Regions from separate parts of the Homo sapiens genome. Here regions 1, 2, 3, 4 and 6 are each linked to region 5. The links are contacts of gene promoters, found by promoter capture Hi-C in blood cells and fetal thymus (Javierre and others, 2016). All regions are on one chromosome and are shown on one strand. The core of a region is centred on a gene start or on the middle of the fragment in contact, and the rest is flanking DNA. Distances in the headings are between cores, read along the strand shown. Region 1 overlaps LINC02223 (long intergenic non-protein coding RNA 2223). Region 2 has its middle 190 kb from the start of LINC02223. Region 3 has its middle 210 kb from the start of LINC02223. Region 4 has its middle 65 kb from the start of LINC02223. Region 5 holds the start of BASP1 (brain abundant membrane attached signal protein 1). Region 6 has its middle 2.4 kb from the start of LINC02223.

What was found. Contacts are between HindIII fragments. The CHiCAGO score rates a contact against its expected background, and 5 or more counts as called.
Region 1: a contact is called between a fragment that was not itself captured here and the fragment with the promoter of BASP1 in region 5, in 4 of 17 cell types (monocytes, M2 macrophages, M0 macrophages and 1 more). The highest score is 7.5, in monocytes.
Region 2: a fragment that was not itself captured here is called in contact with the fragment with the promoter of BASP1 in region 5 in 2 of 17 cell types (megakaryocytes and naive B cells); the score reaches 6.7 in megakaryocytes.
Region 3: a contact is called between a fragment that was not itself captured here and the fragment with the promoter of BASP1 in region 5, in 1 of 17 cell types (M1 macrophages). The highest score is 5.4, in M1 macrophages.
Region 4: a fragment that was not itself captured here is called in contact with the fragment with the promoter of BASP1 in region 5 in 1 of 17 cell types (monocytes); the score reaches 5.3 in monocytes.
Region 6: a contact is called between a fragment that was not itself captured here and the fragment with the promoter of BASP1 in region 5, in 1 of 17 cell types (fetal thymus). The highest score is 5.3, in fetal thymus.

What each region holds. Positions count from the first base shown.
Region 1 is chr5:17,906,187-17,908,969 of GRCh38, forward strand. All of the region lies in intron 5 of LINC02223 (long intergenic non-protein coding RNA 2223), which reads left to right. Among named protein-coding and RNA genes, the nearest start is that of LINC02223, 100 kb to the left of the region's middle. The HindIII fragment of the contact is 1,128 bases long and covers 954-2,081 here.
Region 2 is chr5:17,996,951-17,999,881 of GRCh38, forward strand. No RefSeq gene overlaps it. Among named protein-coding and RNA genes, the nearest start is that of LINC02223, 190 kb to the left of the region's middle. The HindIII fragment of the contact is 532 bases long and covers 1,191-1,722 here.
Region 3 is chr5:18,013,988-18,016,988 of GRCh38, forward strand. No RefSeq gene overlaps it. Among named protein-coding and RNA genes, the nearest start is that of LINC02223, 210 kb to the left of the region's middle. The HindIII fragment of the contact is 1,893 bases long and covers 456-2,348 here.
Region 4 is chr5:17,740,329-17,743,466 of GRCh38, forward strand. No RefSeq gene overlaps it. Among named protein-coding and RNA genes, the nearest start is that of LINC02223, 65 kb to the right of the region's middle. The HindIII fragment of the contact is 1,225 bases long and covers 983-2,207 here.
Region 5 is chr5:17,216,131-17,219,291 of GRCh38, forward strand. BASP1 (brain abundant membrane attached signal protein 1) reads left to right here and starts at 1,501. Exons shown (of 2, transcript NM_006317.5): 1 at 1,501-1,680. It overlaps BASP1-AS1 (BASP1 antisense RNA 1), which reads right to left and starts at 1,292. Exons shown (of 3, transcript NR_027253.1): 1 at 1-1,292. RefSeq lists silencers at 1,297-1,776, 2,267-2,586 and an enhancer at 2,621-3,161. The HindIII fragment of the contact is 5,505 bases long and covers 1-3,161 here.
Region 6 is chr5:17,803,219-17,806,429 of GRCh38, forward strand. No RefSeq gene overlaps it. Among named protein-coding and RNA genes, the nearest start is that of LINC02223, 2.4 kb to the right of the region's middle. The HindIII fragment of the contact is 1,485 bases long and covers 1,207-2,691 here.

The sequences.
Region 1 (2,783 bases), core at 268-2,767, 690 kb after region 5:
CCCCCGGAATCTGCAGCAGCAATCCACCTCTTTCAGAGGGTCTGTGGATTCTCTGGGCTTACCTGGTATATTTCTGTGGTAGTTCTTGGAGCAAAAGTTCATGATATGGGTCTTCATAGCTCTGTCCCTCTGAGTGGGAGCTACAAGTTAGTCCTGCCTCTTATCCACCATTTTTCCTCTAATTGACACCCTGTTTTTTGAGGCAGAATTTTATTCTCATAGCATGTGAATAAATACATTCTACTATGATATGAATGTTTCTAACCCCTAAATTCATATGTTGAAATCCTAACACGCAAAGTGATGGTATTAGGTGCTGAAGGCCTTTTGGGAAGTGATTACATCATCATAAATGTGATCAGTGCCCTTATAAAAATAGGCCAAAGAAAACTCATTTATTCCTTCCACCATGTGAAGACACAGAACCAGAAAGTATGCCCTCAGTAGACGCTGGATCCGATGCTTTGATCTTGGATTTCCCAGCCTCCAGAGCTGTGAAAGATAAATTATGCATTTTTTTAATGGCCCAAACAGATTAAGACATGTTTCTGAGAGCATTGCTCTTAATATATGTAAGGTGAAGTAGTTAAGGAATGAACTGGTTTTTTAACAGGTGATTTGCTTGATACAGTCCTAATACAATGAATGCCACATGTAATTGGAAGCCCAATAAATTAGTTTGAAATAATTTCACCTGCTATAGAGAATACTCCTTCCCTTTACTAGATCAAGTTTTTTGAGGTTAAGAGTAGGCAAATATCAGCTCTTTATAATAAGGAAGATTTGGAACTAAGTCTGGCATTACACTTGTTGAGAGATAATTCTCCATGGGTTTCTCACAATTCTGCACATCTTGTGAGCAGAGACACTGGCAATCTTTGTTTTGGGCTATTTTTTTCAAGGATATTTCTATAGCAAACAACACTGGAAGGTAGAGGTAATATCTCCTCCTAAGCTTAGGGGTCACTTGGCTGGGATGCAAACCCAGTGCATGCACAGCATTCTCTTGGGTGCCTCTCTGTCACCCCTGTGGGACTTAGAGAGCAAGAGGAACCAACATAGCCATGAGACTCATGCTTCCCGTTGTGCTATGAGTAATAAAGGCCTTTGTTTCTGTCCCAGGAGTCTTGTGCCTTTGATCAGCCTCCATGAAACTGTGGCACGCAAACTTGTTACATTGCACATAGGGTCAAATCTCAGGCCCTTCAAAATTCTTGAAAAACTTTTGATGGGTTAAACAGAACCATATAAGTTGACATTTTGCCAAGGAAAAAGAAAGTTTAAGGGGCCTATGACAAAGTTGCCTTAATCCCCTTCTCTGTGATTAAATACTCTATTTACATGTTTGTTTTGTTGTTGTTTGTTTCTTGTTTTTAAAATGGCAAAGAAAATTTGTTTTAAAGGCGTGCCAGGTAAGTAAGAAAAGAGAGTGTTTGGGTAAGGTACAGAAGCATTTGCTAAGGTGGAGTCAACTCTCAAGTGTGGAGCTCCAGCCATCAGATAGGATGGCAAAAATGTGTGATTCCTAATAGAAGGAAAAATAGGCTTTTGCTCAGTAAATACCTCATTCATAATTTATTCTCCTCAGTCCTCTTTTTAAATGGAGAGGCAAATATAAGTTATATCAATAATTTATTTTTACATAACAACCAACAGTGCATTTGATACAGTTTTCTATAAAATAAAGAGGTGATTTTTAAAATTTGTTTCTTCTTTCAAATTTGGCTTAATTATCCCTCAATAATTCCTCTTTACTGAACTTTATTCCACCCTTTATTGATCTGCATGGTAGCAACAAGTTAGAGTTTTAAAGACAACTTGTCAGTTTGACATATCAGATAAAGCAGCTAGTTAAGCTATACTTTTTATGTTTCCTCGTGTGACTAAGAAGTCACAGTCACTCTGTTTTATACATATCACAGAAAGTCTCCAAATAACTGGAATCCATCAAGTGAATTAATACGCCTAAAGGCAATCTGTGTTATAGCTAGTGGATTAGATAGCTGTCTAAAGTTTAGAAACTTGTGTATCTAACAATGTGAAAATTCAAAAATACTTAGTAAAATACATCAACAGACTCAAGCTTCACTGTAAACAGGTCACACTAGCCAGAGGGATCTTCTTTGGTCTGTCATTATGAAAAAGTTGAACCATCATCAAATGGGCACATAGCTTTCCCAGTTTCTCAAATACCCATCAGGACAAGAAATATTTCAATATATTTCCTTCTTAAGCTGCATTTAAAGAAAAAGTAGTGGTACTCTACAAAATTAAAATAGTTACAATTAAGGAGGAATAATTTAGAAATTATAATCTTGTCAACTTGAATTAGTTAAAAGGAAAACAAAACCCAACATAAAAATTATACAACCCTTAATAAAATAAAATGATCCTGGATACCACTGGCGACATTCTTCCTTTTTGATGACATTTGAATATGCTTTAATACTTGGATTGTTTAAAACTATTTTTGGTTGTTTTAGAATCATTGAGACCAATATGTTATCACTGGCTATCCTGCAGTTACAATGATCAAGATTTGGTCAAGTTTTGACTCCAATTAGGAATATCAAGGGTGTGTGTGTGTGTGTGTTTTAATCTATCTTTCTCTTTTTTGTTTGCAAACCCAAGAATTTCTGTGGGTCACTCAGGGTTTGATCAGAAAAAGAGGACTTACAGTATAGGTGTACAATAAGGGATTTATTACAGAGATTTGCCTTTACGCAAATGTGGGGGCTACATACGTCGTCTATGTGAGACTATTGTTTTTCTATCTGACTTTC
Region 2 (2,931 bases), core at 207-2,706, 780 kb after region 5:
TTGTTATACATCTGGGAAATAGACCAGCATTCATTATCCACATGGATACTCTTGTACTTGAGTCCTGTGAGAGATTCTCCTGTGTCAGGAGCACAACTTAACTCTGAAATGTTGGCCAAAATTTGACATAGATTTACCAAATAGTCTCATAATATTAATATCATGTTGACTCTGCAGAAATCTGCAACTAGACTATGTGAACTTTTTTCTTTTAGATGTCTCAATTTTGAGAAATACATAAAAAGATGAGTGATATTCTTTTAAATATTATTGAGAATTTAATTGGATTATAGTGGACTAAGACAAGCAAAGTATTTTACTTACAATAATGATCAATGTATATACGTAAGAAATAGTTTTATTAGAAGGAAAAAGTCTTGGCAATTTCCTTTGACTATTACTCTCAAGAACTTAATTCTGAAAACTTTTACATTATTATAACAATTTCCTGAAAATTCTTCATGTATGTTATATATCTGGAATAAAAATTAATATGTTAGACTTCTTGGAGACAAACATAGGCAAAATTATTGTGTATAGAATGCATTTTCTTTCTAGTTTTCTAACTGAAACTAATCAAATGTGTCATTTGCTTCAGTTTTTTAAATGTTATTTTTAATTGATAGATAATAATTGTATAGATTTACACGGTACAAACTGATGTTTTGGTACATATACGCTTTGCAGAATGATTAAATAATGCTAATTAATATATCTATCACTTCACATACTTATTTCTTTGTGATGGGAAAATTCAAATCCACTCTTTCCACAATTTTGAAATATACAATATGTTATTATTAACTGTAGTCACAATGCTGTGCAGTAGGACACCAGAACTTATCCTTCCTGTCTAAGTGAAACTTTGTACTCTTTGACCAATGTCTTCCCTTTCCCTGCATTCTTCCCCCAACCTAGTCTCTGGTAAGCGTCATCCTGCTTTCTACTTCTATGAGTTTGACAATTTTAGATTCCACATATAAGTGAGATCATGTGGTATTTCCCTTTCTGTGCCTGGCTTACTTCACTTAGCATAATGTCCTCTAGGTATATCCATGTTGTTGCAAATGATAAATATCCTTTTTCTAAAGGGTGAATAGTATTTCATTATGTGTACATATATATATCACATTTTCTTTATTCCGTTAATGGGCACTTGGTTGTTTCCATATCTTGATTATTGTGAATAAAGCTTCAATGAACATGGTAGTGCAGATATCTCATTCACACACGGATTGCAATTCCTTGGATATATACCTGGAAGTAGAATTACTGGATTGATCAGATGGTAGTTCTATTTTTACATTTTTGAAGTACCTCCATAATGTTTTCCAAAATGGCTGTGCTGTTACAATACCACAAACAGTGTACAAGGTTTCCCTTTTCTCCACATTCTAGCCAACACTTATCTTTCATCTTTTTGATAATAGCCAATATAACAGGTGTGATGTGTTATCTCATTGAGTTTTTAATTTGCCTTCCTCTGATTTGTGATGTTGAGCACTTTTGTTTTTCATATAGCAGTTGGCCATTTATATGTCTTCTTTTTAGAAATGTTTACTCAGGTCCTTTGTCTATTTTTAATAGTGTTATTTGTTTTCTTGTTATTGAATAGTTTGAGTTCCTTATTTATTTTGGATGTTAGCCCTTATTTAATGTGTGATTTGCAAACATTTTCCCAATTTGTAGATTATCTCTTTGTTGTTTCTTTTGCTGTGCAGAAGCTTTTTGGTTTGAGACACTCCCATTTGTTTATTTTTTGCATTTGTTGCCTTTGGTTTTGGGGTTATATGTAAGAAATCACTGTCCAGACCCATGTTATGGAGCTTTGTTCCTATGTTTTCAACTAGTGGTTCTAAAGTTTCAGGTATTACATTTAAATTTGTAATTTATTTTGCATTTATTCTTGTATACAGGGTGAGTATAAGGGTCCCATTTTATTCTTCTGCATGGGATAGCCAGTCTTTCCAACACAATTTCTTAAAAAGACAGTCCTTTACCCATTGTGTGTTCTTGGCACCTTTGTTGAAAATCAATTGACTGTAGATATCTGGGTTTATTTCTAAACTTTTTATCCTATTCCATTGGTCAATGTGCCAGTTTTTATGTCAGTACTATGCTGTTTTGATTAATATAGCTTTGTAGTATAGAAATCAGGTGGCACAATGCCTCCAGGTTTGTTCCTTTGGGTCAAGATTGCTTCGTTTATTTGGAGTCTTTTGTGGTTCCGTGCAAATTTTAGGATTGTTTTTTCTATTTCTGTGAAGAATTACACAGGCATTTTGATAGAGATTACACTGAATCTGTAGATTACTTTGGGTCCTATGGACATTTTAACATTAATTCTTCCAACCCATGAACATGGGATATCTTTCCATTCACTTCTGTCACCTTCAATTTATTTTACCAATGTCTTAGTTTTTAATATACAGATCATTTATTTCCTTAAACTTACTCCTTGGTATTTTTAATCCTATTATAAATGGGTTTTTTCGTAATTTATTTTTCAGATAGTTCATTTTTAGTGCATCTAAATGCTACTGATCTTTGTATGTAGATTTTATATCCTGGAACTTGCTGAATTCATTTATTTTTTTTTTTTTGTGGAACCTTTAGGGTTTTCCATATGTAAGATCATGTCATCAGCAAACAGAAACAATCTCACTTCTTCCTTTCTTACTCAAATGCCTCTTACTATTTTTTAAAATTTCCTAATTGTTCTGGCTAGTACTTCCAGTTCTAGCTAGAACAGAAGTGAACAGAAGTGGTGAGAATGGGCATCCTTTCCTTGATCCAGATCTTAAAGGAAACTCTTCAAATTTTTACTACTGAGTATGATATAAGCTGCAGACTTGTCATATATGGCCTTTATTGCATGGAAATACCTTCCTTCTATACCAAGCTTTTATGCCCGATAATACTAGTCCAGAT
Region 3 (3,001 bases), core at 152-2,651, 800 kb after region 5:
GATAGTGAAAAAGTTAAGAAAAATTTTGAGATGAATAAATGAATTTGTGAGCTGTTTTAAAAATAATATTATCTAAATATTTATTGAGTGTGAGGATGTTACTGTCATTATACAGATGAATGTCCCAGTTTAGGAAGTGCATGATGAAATATTGAGAGATGAAGTGTCATGGTGCCTACTTCTTACTTTCAAATGTTTGAGCAGAAAAAAATTCTGTGTGTGTGTCTGTGTCTGTATGTGTGTATGTGTGTGTGTGTGTGTATTTCTTACCGAGTCCAGCTTGGTAAATTATGTTTTTCAAGAAATTTGCCTATATTAACTAGGTTGTCAAATTTATGAGCACACTATCTATTATTCTTTTAATAAAGTGATTAATATGGTATCCTTTTATTATCTTTTTTTTAAAGAAAAATCACTGGTGATACCCCATTTTCATTCCTAAGGCTACTATTCTAAGCTTTCCTTAATTTTTTCCTCATAATTAGTCTTGCTAATAGTTTATTAATAATTTCCAGGAATCAGAATTTGGCTTTGATTTTTCTCTACTCTGTGTCTGTTTTGTATTTTCATTGATTTCTGATAGTTTATATTTCTTTCTACTTGGGAATAATTTGCTGGATTTTCTTGTGGTTTAGTGACATGAAAGCATATACTATTCATTTCAATTTTTTTCTTTTTTAAAATATAATTGAAAACTAAAAACTTGTCTGATACCATGTCACTACATGCCAAAAGTTTGAATAAATTGTATTATCATTCAATTCACCTACATATAAGTTTTCTTTATGTCTTCTGTGACCCATACATTTTTGAAGTGTTTTGCTTAATCTCTTATTTATTTATTTTTTTTTTTTTTGAGATGGAGTCTCGCTCTGTCGCCCAGGCTGGAGTGCAGTGGCACGAACTCGGCTCACTGCAAGCTCCGCCTCCCGGGTTCACGCCATTCTCCTGCCTCAGCCGCCCGAGTAGCTGGGACTACAGGCACCCGCCACCACGCCTGGCTAATTTTTTGTATTTTTAGTAGAGACGGGGTTTCACCGTATTAGCCAGGATGGTCTTGATCTCCTGACCTCGTGATCCACCTGCTTCGGCCTCCCAAAGTGCTGGGATTACAGGCATGAGCCACTACTCCCCGCCTTGCTTAATTTCTTAATATTCTGGGATTATTCAATATACATTCAGTTTTGCTAAATACTCCTTCACTTAAAAAATATGTGTATTTCTTAGATGTTGGATACAGGGTTCTATATATGTCTATTAAGTCAATGCGGTGTGTTCTAAAGAAGAAATGTCAAAATCTTCAACTTTGATAGTTCCTTTTTAAAATATTTCCTTGTTTTTACTTCATAAATTTGGACGTTATATCATTAGGTACCTGCATATTTAATTTGCTATGCCTTCCTGAAAGATTGATCCTTTTATTATTATGAATTATCTCTCTTAATCTTTTCTAATACCTCTTGGTTTTAAATCTATTTTGTCTAGTAGGAATACAGCCAGACATTCTTCATTGTTGTTGATGATAGAATTGCATAGTACATTATATTTTATAATTTTATTTTTAAAGTATCTGTATCCTAAGATTTAAAGTGTATGTTTAAATTGTGCTAAAGCCAGCATATAATTGGGTTTTGTTATTGTCATTTAGATTAACAATCTTTTCTTTTTAATTGTAGTATACAGAGGATCCTGTGTTTGCCTCACAGATTTAGAATTTTCATTTTTTATTTTCATATGAATCTCTACTAAAATTGCCACATTTACATCCATTTTATTTGTCTTTTCCTCATTTGTCTTGAGTATGCTAATAATATATTAAACTCTTCATCCTCCAACACCAGTATCTGGATTGCCTATGAGTCTATTTGTATAATTCATGTTTTGTTTTTTAAATTATTGGTCAAATTTCTGTACTACTTCATATATCTATTAATTTTTGATTGTTTGCTAGACAATATTTTAAAAGAACCATTGTATGCTGCACAGATTGGGCCAAGTTTTTAGTTGTGTTGCAGTTTTAAAAAGATTCACATTCTTTCTGGTACTTTTGTGCGGTGTGGCCATTCCAGATTTTGATTAAAACTCTGGCTGATCTCTTTCTCCTCAGTGCTGAATAACTACAACTTAACTATATAACTATCAGCTTAACTCTTTAGTCTTCTTTCCTATGCAAATTGTAGCATGTGTATCAAGGAGGAGATTGGCTGTGTATTTGTGGTGGGCTTCCATTCTCTCGTATAACTGTTCTCTTATGCATTGTAGGGATGTGGGATATTTTACTCTCCTTTTATAAAACCTCTTACCTATCCCCGAGTCTCCACTTTCTTTAGCACATGTCCTGTGGGGAAAGCTTACTGACTGTTTGGAGTTCCTTTAGTTTCCCATGTCTCGGGTCAGGCTCATGAGATAAGCAATAGCTTTGTTGGATTCTCTTTTCCTCTGATAGAGGATGCCTACTAGGGCTTAGCTTGAGCCTCACCCATGCACCAAATTAATTAAGGCTTTACAGGCTGAAAGCAGCCAGTGATTATCAGCTACAGAAGGGTCTCCCTTGCCTGAGATTTTGGTTTATCACATTCTTGTTGTTTCCATAGATCTCTAATCTCTAAAATATGACTTTCCAAATGTATCTATTTCTTTCTAATAATTACACTAGGAAAATTGGTTTTCTGTTACTACATGTTACTTAGATATGGAAATGTTTTCTATTTATAGAATTTTTGTTAACCCTCTTACTTTGTTTTTTATGTTTATCATATATGTTAGTAATCCAAACTCTAGAATAATATATAGGAAATGAAATCATATCTATTACACTGTTTTTGTTTGCTTTGCTCAGCTTTGTTAGTGAAAAAATCATATTTATACATGTAGTTGTAGTACATTTTTAAATTTAGGATTCCATTTTGTAAATTTACCAAATTTTTAAAATATATTCTATTGATGATGAAAATGTAAAGAATTTCATAGTTAGCTAATGTGGAATTTTAAGTCAGCCAGG
Region 4 (3,138 bases), core at 345-2,844, 520 kb after region 5:
TTTATAAAAGACTCTCTCAGTTAAATGAATGAGTGGCCTTTGGTGTGCTCCAAGAATGGATTTTCCTGTGTTATATAAAATGTATACTATGTTGTTGCGTGGTTCGTTGTTTTTATTTTGATGAACCCGCTTTAAATATGAAAAGTATAAGTACTGTCACTTCTGTTATAACATGACAAATGTGTTCCTATAAGTCACACTGTTGTGGAAAATTACATAACATAAAAGGGCTTGTGAGAAAAATGGGGCTATGGGTATAATACCGCCAAACTAAGTCACTGACACATAAATAAGATAGGAACATACTAAAACAAGTAGCACAGTCTTACATATGTTATGTGGTTAAGAAATAAATAATAGAATAAATGTAGCCTTTTATCTTGAAAAATACTTGAAGTTTGGTTGTAGAAGAGTTGCAGCTTGCCAGTTATTGTGAAGTAGAGGAAGGACAGTTATTTTCAAGTCATGGGAAAGTTGTAACACTAGAAGGGTATGGCTCATAACCCATGAGTAAACTGAGATAATTGACAAATTCTCGGTGTTCGTATGTTTTATGTATTCCTTTGAGGCTCAGTTTCAGCAGAGTGCCATTTTCTGCATTCACCTGATGTTCCTTAAAGATGAAATAACTATACATAACTGTGAAATGTAAAATTAATGTTATGCTCACAGTTTTTGCTAATATATTAATGGTGTAGAAACAAATTTGCATATCAAAATATGCATACAAAACAAAACTGACTACATCTTGTTCGAAATCATCATTGGCATCATCATCATCATCGTTATCATCACCATGATTACTTAACATTTTCATGAGTTGATTTTATCATAACTTCTTGGGCATAAATTTTATCTGTAAGAATGTTTTATTGAAACACTTTAATAACAATTCTGGGAAATAATTATCTTTCAGAATAATGTGAAAATCTATTATCGCAATTAGAGAATAAATCCATAAGATGATATTTGGCTCCTATGAAGCTTTTGTTTTTGGCTTGCAGACTCTCCTTTGGAGACAAATAACAAGATAACAATTATCTTGTTATTTCTCTCAGTTCCAGGTAAACAAAAGGTGCCTAATACAAGCATATTAACCTGACTTGACTTAACTCAGAGGAAATGAAAAGTTCCAGCCAAGTAAGGTTAACTCAGACAAAACTCAGTTACCCTTTTTGAAGTCCTTTCCAAAATCAATGGTGATTTATTTCAGTGACCCCCCTTAAAGCGTACATACATTTCCACAGAATCAGCGTATTAATCTGTTCTCATGCTGCTATGAAGAAATATCTGAGACTGGGTAGTTTATAAAGAAAAGAGGTTTATTGACTCACAGTTTTGCATGGCTGGAGAGGCCTCAGGAAACTTAACAATCATGGCAGAAGGCACCTCTTCACAGGGCGGCAGGAGAGAGAATGAGTGCTGAGCAAAGGTGGAAACCCCTTATAAAACCATCAGATCTTGTGAGAACTCACTCACTATCACAAAAACAGCACGGGGAAAACTGCCCCCATGATTCAGTTATCTCCACCTGGTCCCTCCCTTGACATGTGGGGATTATTACAATTCAAGGTGAGATCTCGTTGGGGACACAGAGTCAAACCATATCAATCAGGGATAGGCACCCATGTGTGAGGGCAGTAGACAGAATCCAAGGGGCAAATAGATGCTGTGCCTTAAGAAAAGATTAGTACCTTTGACTGTTTATCTGGATTTTGCTAGTAGGTTTCTTTTTCCTGCAGCAGTAAAACCATCCCAAGCTCTGAGGAGTACCACTGACATACCCACTCCATTTGTGGTCCCTGAATGCTCTTTGACCCGTTTGAGGAACCAGGAGATAATTAGTTTCTAAAATATGATTTGAGAACATCCACTCTCCAACCACAATTTATTGAATTATCTGTACTACTAATTGATTTAATTCTAACAATGACTCTCTCAGAACCTTACTGCGGAAGGGAGCCTGGATATTTTAGTCCATTTCCTTTTCTCCCCACTCTGATTTCTTGAGAAAAAAATAATAGGGTTAACTACTGCAGAGCAATTCCTTTAGGAATGTAACAAATCTGCATTACTTATCGCTAGAAATTATGAGTGGATGATAATGATTTGAATGATTTGCAGGTTTCTTGATAGTTTTCTGCAAAATTAGACCAGGAAGGAGTGAGTTAGTAGGAAGTTGAGCTTGGTGGAGGCCATGAACAATAAGCTTGAGAAGCTTGAGGAGCATATTAATTGACTTAACTCACATGTGACCATGATTATCAGTACCTATTATTTGGAATGCAGAAATTCAAGAATGTTACTAAATCAGTTCAACACCAATCTCCAAAGGTCCCATTGGCTTAAATTAAACCTGAGACTCAGCAAAAAATGAAACCAAATCGTGGGTATTGTATAAACTCTGTTTTACTATTGAAAATACAAACTGAAAAACTGATTTTATGCACCACTTAGCTGCTGTTAAATTCATCTTCAGTGACTTATCGATTTGTAATGACACTGGGAAAAAGAGAGATTACACAGTGCTGGAATCTTATATTCTCTAAATAAGCCCTTCAGTTAAAACACAAACACATATTATATAATCACATAAAATAAAAATATAATATTATGGAAAGATAAATATTAAGCCGTTATTTTAATTTATTTGTAAAGTTAACAAAATTTAATGCATTAAACTTATACTCAAACATTTGATACTACAAAATTTTATGCTCTTTTTCTCAAAAGGGAAAATGGCATAAAACTTAAGTAAAAATTAATATATAAGAATGCTCCTGTTCTTGAATTAACTAACCCACTGCCAAATAAAGGTAATGGTATAAAATGTATTGCGATGCTTGCACCAGGAATCTGATGTGGGATATCAGGAGAATGTTCTATGATACCTCTGAACCAGACTTTGTAAAGCAGCTTTTATTATTCAGGATTGGCATTACAGGTCTATTACTTAAACTCATATTGAGGAGTCAGGAGAAAGGAGTTGCAGACATGAGCTGTCAGGGCCTATGGGTCTTGCTGTGTGGACACGAGTTGTGGAGAGGGAAAATGAAGCTGATATGCACAAAGATGCAGAAATAAGGAGCAGGGAGAATCTCATGTAGTCCAAGTCCACAGAATTCCCACCTGTACCCT
Region 5 (3,161 bases), core at 251-2,750:
TGGTTACAGTTTGTCACTCCGGTTCTGGAGGGCCACCCTGTCCCTGAATTCACGCCCAGGTCCTGAGGGCAGAACCATCCTGAGGACAACCTGCAGCTCCATCGATTTTTTCTTGGCTGGGACGCAGGCGAGCATGAAAGCGATCCAAACACAGCCAGAGGGCGCCAAAATGCCGCAAATAAAAGTTCCAAAGGCGTCAACTGGCTTTTGCGGGAAGGTAAAATTGGCTTTTGTGTAATCAAAGAGCTACCGTTGTCAACGATGTCACGTTACGTTATTTTTGTATGTCCCTCTTGCCAACAGGTAAGCAAAGTGAACGCATCTTCCTACCCCGGTGGCTATTCTGTGTCCCGGTGCTAAACCAAGTGTCCGCCCCCTTAGGGCACCCGGACAAGCCGCGGTTGGCCCTAGCTTTGACTCGAGCGCTCGCAAGCAGCAGCGTGCGGGCTGCCTCGGCCAACCCCGTCTTCTCAATATTGGTGGCCTCCATTAAAGCACAGACATCAAAAACATCGACGGCCCCTTTCCCCTCTTCTCTTCCCTCCTTCCTCTCCCAAGTTCCGAGAGCATCCTCCGAGGGGCGACGTCTCTCGCCCCACCAGCTGGACCTCGGCGACCGCGCCTCCCCCGAAGCTGCAGCCTTCGGGGCTGAGCCCCGCGGGTGCGGGTGCAGGTGCGGAGCCGCCCAAGGTGCGCAACTCGTTTGCAGCGGCGCAGCCCAGACGCGCCTGCAGCTGGGGCTCACCCCAACCTCGCTGCCAGCCGAGGTAGCGGAATCGTAGTCGACGTCGGGAGCGGGCTGGACTGGGGTCTGAGAAGGGTAGCTGGTGCCAGGGGGTGTCATTCATCACCTCGAGGCAGCTCCCTAAGTCTGAGCGAGAGCCCGAGCACTTCTTATCCAACGGTTCCAAATAAATGAGGGGGAGAGAGAGAGAGAGAGTGAGAGAGAGAGAGAGAGAGAGAGAGTGAGTGAGAGAGTGAGAGAGTGGGAGAAGTCCACGGACAGCCCAGGCGGCGCGGCGGGGGAAGGGGGACGCAGGAATGGAGGAGAGGAGAGGGGAGGCGGAGGGGGGATCTGAATAGAGGGCATTTAGGAAACGTTGGCGGGGCACAGAGTTGGGAGGTGGGGGGAAGGGAGGAACCAGGATGGCGGATAGGAGAGAAATGGGGGTGACTGTGCTGGAGGGGAGGGGAGGTGGGGGCCCAGAGCTGGGGGGAGTCAAGGGGAGGCGGGCGTGTCCAGGCTGGAGGGGAGAGGGGAGGGTCTGCGCCGGAGGAGGGGAGGGGAGCAGAGGGAGTGCAGGGGGTGGGGAGATGGAGCTGGAGGGGGTGGAGGGGAGACGGGCGGGGCGCCGGGCTGGAGGGAGGGGAGAGAGGCGGGCGGGGAGCGCGGGAGGAGGGAGGCTGGGCGGGCGGACGCGCGGGGGGAGGGCACTGGGCAGGAAGGGGAGGGGGAGCGAGCGCGAGAAATGCAGAGGCTGCAGCGGCGGCGGCGGCGGCAGTAGCGGCAGCGGCGACGACGGCGGCGGCAGCGCTCCAACTGGCTCCTCGCTCCGGGCTCCGCCGTCGAGCCGGGAGAGAGCCTCCGCCAGCGGCCAGGCACCAGCCAGACGACGCCAGCGACCCCGGCCTCTCGGCGGCACCGCGCTAACTCAGGGGCTGCATAGGCACCCAGAGCCGGTAAGGAGGCGCGCCCGGTGGCCCCGCGCCGCCGCGGACCCGGGGGCCTCCGTCCCCCACCGCGCCGCGCCCCGCCCCGCAGCCCCCGGGCTCTCCCTTCATGCAGCGGGCAGCAGGGATGTGGGCCCGGATTGGACGGCAAGGGCCTGGGGTCCCTCTGTGAGGGCTCCGTCGCACTTCGGGGATCCCGGGTGATGGGGGGCCCAGAAGTGGGAGGCTTCAGCCGCTCGCATGGTGGAGGGGTGAGGGGGGCGGCGAGGTTGGTAAACGGAGCTGGGGGGAGGGGGCTGTCGGGGAGAGGAGCTGCGGGTGACGGGAGGAATTGCCGAATGCGAAACCCCCTCAGTGCGTTGAGTCCCGGGGAGACGGTTCTGTGGGCTGAAGGGAGCGCTTCCGTCATCGGAGCCCTTACCAGCCTGGGAGAAAGCGCTCGGGGCGAGGGGCGCAGCAGCCAAAGATGGAGGGTGGGGGTGGGGTGGGGCGGGAGTCCGGGGAGAAAGAAGATGGGGAATCTGGCCCGATCAGAAGGAAGTGGGTGGCTTTTTGCTTTGGCAAACGGGTTTTCTCGACCCATGGGACTCCTGGATCTTGGTTCTGGGGCCAAGGAATACGAGGTTCACACGGCGACGTGCACTCAGAAGCACCTCCCGAGCAGATCGGAGCCCCAGCCTCGTCAGTGGCGGAATTGCCTTCCTACGAACCCGTGGGCTGCCTCGGAGCAGTTTGTTTTTTCGAGCCTTTGGTTCCAAGAATGCGCCAGGCGCCTCCGCCCTGGGTCCCGGCCCCGGCCCGGGCCCGGGGGGTGTGGGCTTGAACCTGACAGCGCGCGGCCCTAACTGGGCTCAGCCCCGCTGGGAGCGTAGGGTTGGGGTTGAGCAGCTTTTGCCCAAAGCGCTAAAGCTGAAACCCGGCGCCCGGTTCCTGCTCCCCCCGCCCCCGTCCCCCCTCCATTTCCAGAAAAATAAAAATTGCGGAATCCTGGATCCGATCGCACGCACAATGCGCGGCTGCAAACCGCATTCTTTTCATGAATATTCATCGAACGCTTGGCCAGGCTCCTTATCTGCGTCCCCAGAGACATTTCCGCCTTGAAACGAACTCGGTGGACAGCCCTTGCCCATGTAATTCTCACTCTGCTGAAATTAGCACAGCACACATGGGTGCATTTTTTAGGACCTTGTACAGGTTGACAACACCTCTGTCTCCCCCGCGGCCACTCGCACTGTGGGGCGGGCTAAAACCCAACACTAGCGTCGAAATGGCCTTCTGCTATAGGGTTGTGGACCGACCCCCCACCCCCACCTCCCGGGATTACAGCCCGGGCCAACAGACCCCCAGTATACTGCAGGCAAAATGAATGAATCGGGACTGTAATTACCTATTCCTTTGTCTTGGCCTCGCGCATGCGCCGGAGAGCAGGGTGTGGAGGGCCCGGCAGCCCCATCCCATCTCCATCATCCAGCCACCCACTCCCCTCCCGA
Region 6 (3,211 bases), core at 699-3,198, 590 kb after region 5:
CTCGTTGAGAATACAATTGACTCTTGAACAACAAATGGGTTAGGGGCTCTGACCTCTATGTAGTTGAGAGTCTGCATATAACTTTTTACTCCCCCAGAACTTAACTACTGATTGCCTATTGTTGAGTGGAAGCCCTACCAATAACATAAACAGTCAACACATATATTATATGCGTTATGTATATTATATACTATATTCTTACAATAAAGCAAGCTAGAGAAAAGAAAATGTTAAGAAAATCAGAAGGAAGAAAAATATATTTTTTATTAAGTGGAAGTGGATCATCTTAAAGGTCTTCATCCTCATTGTCTTCATGCTGAGTAGGCTGAGAAGGAGGAGGAAGAGGAGGGGCTGGTCTTGCTGTCTCAAGGGTGCAGAGGTGGAAAAAAAATCCATGTATAAGTGGACATTCACAATTTGAATTTGTATTCTTTAAGGTCAATGGTTATTTATTTTACTAACCCAGAATGATCTCCATAAGAAGTGCTCCGTAATGTATGCATGTATAAGTGTATACTTCACCCTGACTTGGGTATTATGAATTACCTCTGTGATTTTCATTAGTTTTCTGGTTGGAAAGTTGAATACTTTTGAACTTGAATAATGTTCTTAGGAGTAAAGTTCAGAGGTTGGATATTTATTGGAAACATGTCAATTTAGTTTTATTTTAATGGTTTAGACTGAAATATTGATTGACAACACTTTAGTAATTGCTCAATATAAAAACTGGTCAGCAATTAATTTTACAAACATTTATTATGTGTCAGGCTTTGGGTTTGGCAAGGAAGACAAAAGATAAGTATGTGGCTCTCACTCTCAAGATCCTTATAGTTTCATTCTTTGGCTCAATAAGCTGTTTTCTGAGGAAGGATCTGATGTTTAACTTTATTGCTGTACAACCTATGTTGCAGTAGGGTGTTGCAGAAAGTATTGAATTACACCTCCAAGTAAAATAATATTTGCCTAGTAGGCAATTGGTCTTAACTGGATGAAGTTTTGCCTACTCATGCTACAACTATTTATTGAATAACTATTTTGTATCAAGCACTGTTGTAAACACTACAGATATAGTAGAAATCAAGACAAACAGAATCTCTACCCTCATGGAGCTTACATCCTAGCAGGGACTGGGGAGGAGGAGGTAGCATGCACTTTTGCACTTTTTTTTTTAGTAGGACAATGAGTCAAAGGTGCCCTAGAAATTGAAGCTTCTGACTTGATACTAAGCAATTAATATGGCCTACTTGCTTTCTATACTGTATGGCACTGACCCAAAGGAAAAGAAAGAGCTTCTACAATACTTGTAAGTACTTTTCTAACACTTGCAAGTGATTTTAAAGTCAGACAACAAAAAACTTATAATAATATAACCCTTCCAAATTATGTGTTAAGAATAGTATACAAAAATTATTAACACTATTCATGTAGGGTAGTGATTTTAAGTTTTGGACATTCAGAAGTGGTTAAAATTTCTTAGCAATAGTTTACCTGGAGCTTTCCCTTGACCTGACAATTGGCAAAACCCACAGGTTCTTTTTTTTTTTGAGACGGAGTCTCGCTCTGTCACCCAGGCTGGACTGCAGGGGCATCATCTCGGCTCACTGCAAGCTCCGTCTCCCGGGTTCATGCCATTCTCTTGCCTCAGCCTCCCGAGTAGCTGGGACTACAGGCGCCCACCACCACGCCTGGCTAATTTTTTTGTATTTTTATTAGAGACCGGGTTTCACCGTGTTAGCCAGGATGGTCTCAATCTCCTGACTTCGTGATCCACCCGCCTCAGCCTCCCAAAGTGCTGGGATTACAGGCTTGAGCCACTGTGCCCAACCAACCCACAGGTTCTTAATGCCTGCTGAAATTGCTACACACTCTCTGTGGGTCTGCTTTGGTTACTAGTGACAATGTCCACCACAAAAAGAACTTGAAAAACATTTATATGTGGCTTCATATCACCTCTCTTTTTCATTTTGAATAATTCATATTTCCTGTTTTAGGATTGCAGTGGAATACATGTTTTCTATTTTCTTTCTTTATCTTTTTTTTGGTTTCTTTCTTCATTTGTTTCTATTTTTTCTCTCTATTTTCACATAAGCATCTAATGTTTTTGGCTCACACTAAAGTATTTTAAATCCATTTCTCCATTATCATTTCTGCCATAACAGTTGGAAGAAACCTAAGTTCTTATGTCCCCAGTCTCTTTTGCAGTGAGAGCAGCCATATGCTTTAGTTCTGGAAACTAAGACATGGCCTGAACTTGCTAAGAGCTCTAGGAAGGATTTTGCTTTTCCTCATGTCAGGGCATGTTATAAGGTATTACCTGATATAATTCCTGGCATGGCTCCTTCTTCCTTCTTTCTTGAAGGCAGACTGCAATGCTGAAAGCTACTGCAGTCATCTTGCAACCAGGAAGTAAACATGAGAAATCCCAAGAGAATTTCAGAAATTGTCAAACCACTGAACCAATGCTAGCTGCTTCCCTCATGACTACTTGTTATGCCAGAAAAATTATCCAATATTTATTAAGCCACCCACTCTATATAGTGTTTCCTGTTATTTTCGGTTGGAAGCGTTCCTATCAGATGATGCCACACACATAACATGCATAAACCATTGTTAGTAATTATTGAAAGTTGAGCATTAAGCTATAAATTAAAACACAACAATGAAGACAAAATGCAATTCTTATCTTGAAGAAGCTTATGGTGAACATTTTATAAGTTAAGCCAATAAGAATCAAAAACCCTTCTGATATTAGTTGAAGGTCTGCAACTAATCTGGACTGGTATGTTTCTTACTGATTCTTGGCGTTTGTTTTCTCATATATAAAACAAGGGATTGCATTATTTCCTGGGTCTATTGCAGGCATAAATTTCCAAGTTTATTAGAATAAAATGTATTTTAAATTCATGGATTTATAACACTTCTGTCGAACGGTATTTTAACATTTGTATTCCATGGATACTTTGGATGCAAAAGAAGCCTTCGCACATTTCCTGTTCACGCTTAGGATTCTGTGCATACTACATTGAAAAAGCTGGGCTATGAGTTTGAGCATTTTGATATGGCATTCTAAAACTTCATTTACTTAGCATTCTAAAAGTCTAGTTTATTTGTTTACCTACTGAACAGCATAAATAGAATACCGGGAAATATCTTTTAGGAAGAATTTTTCCCAAGAAAATCCTATACAACTTCAGTAATTTTCTTCCCTTTT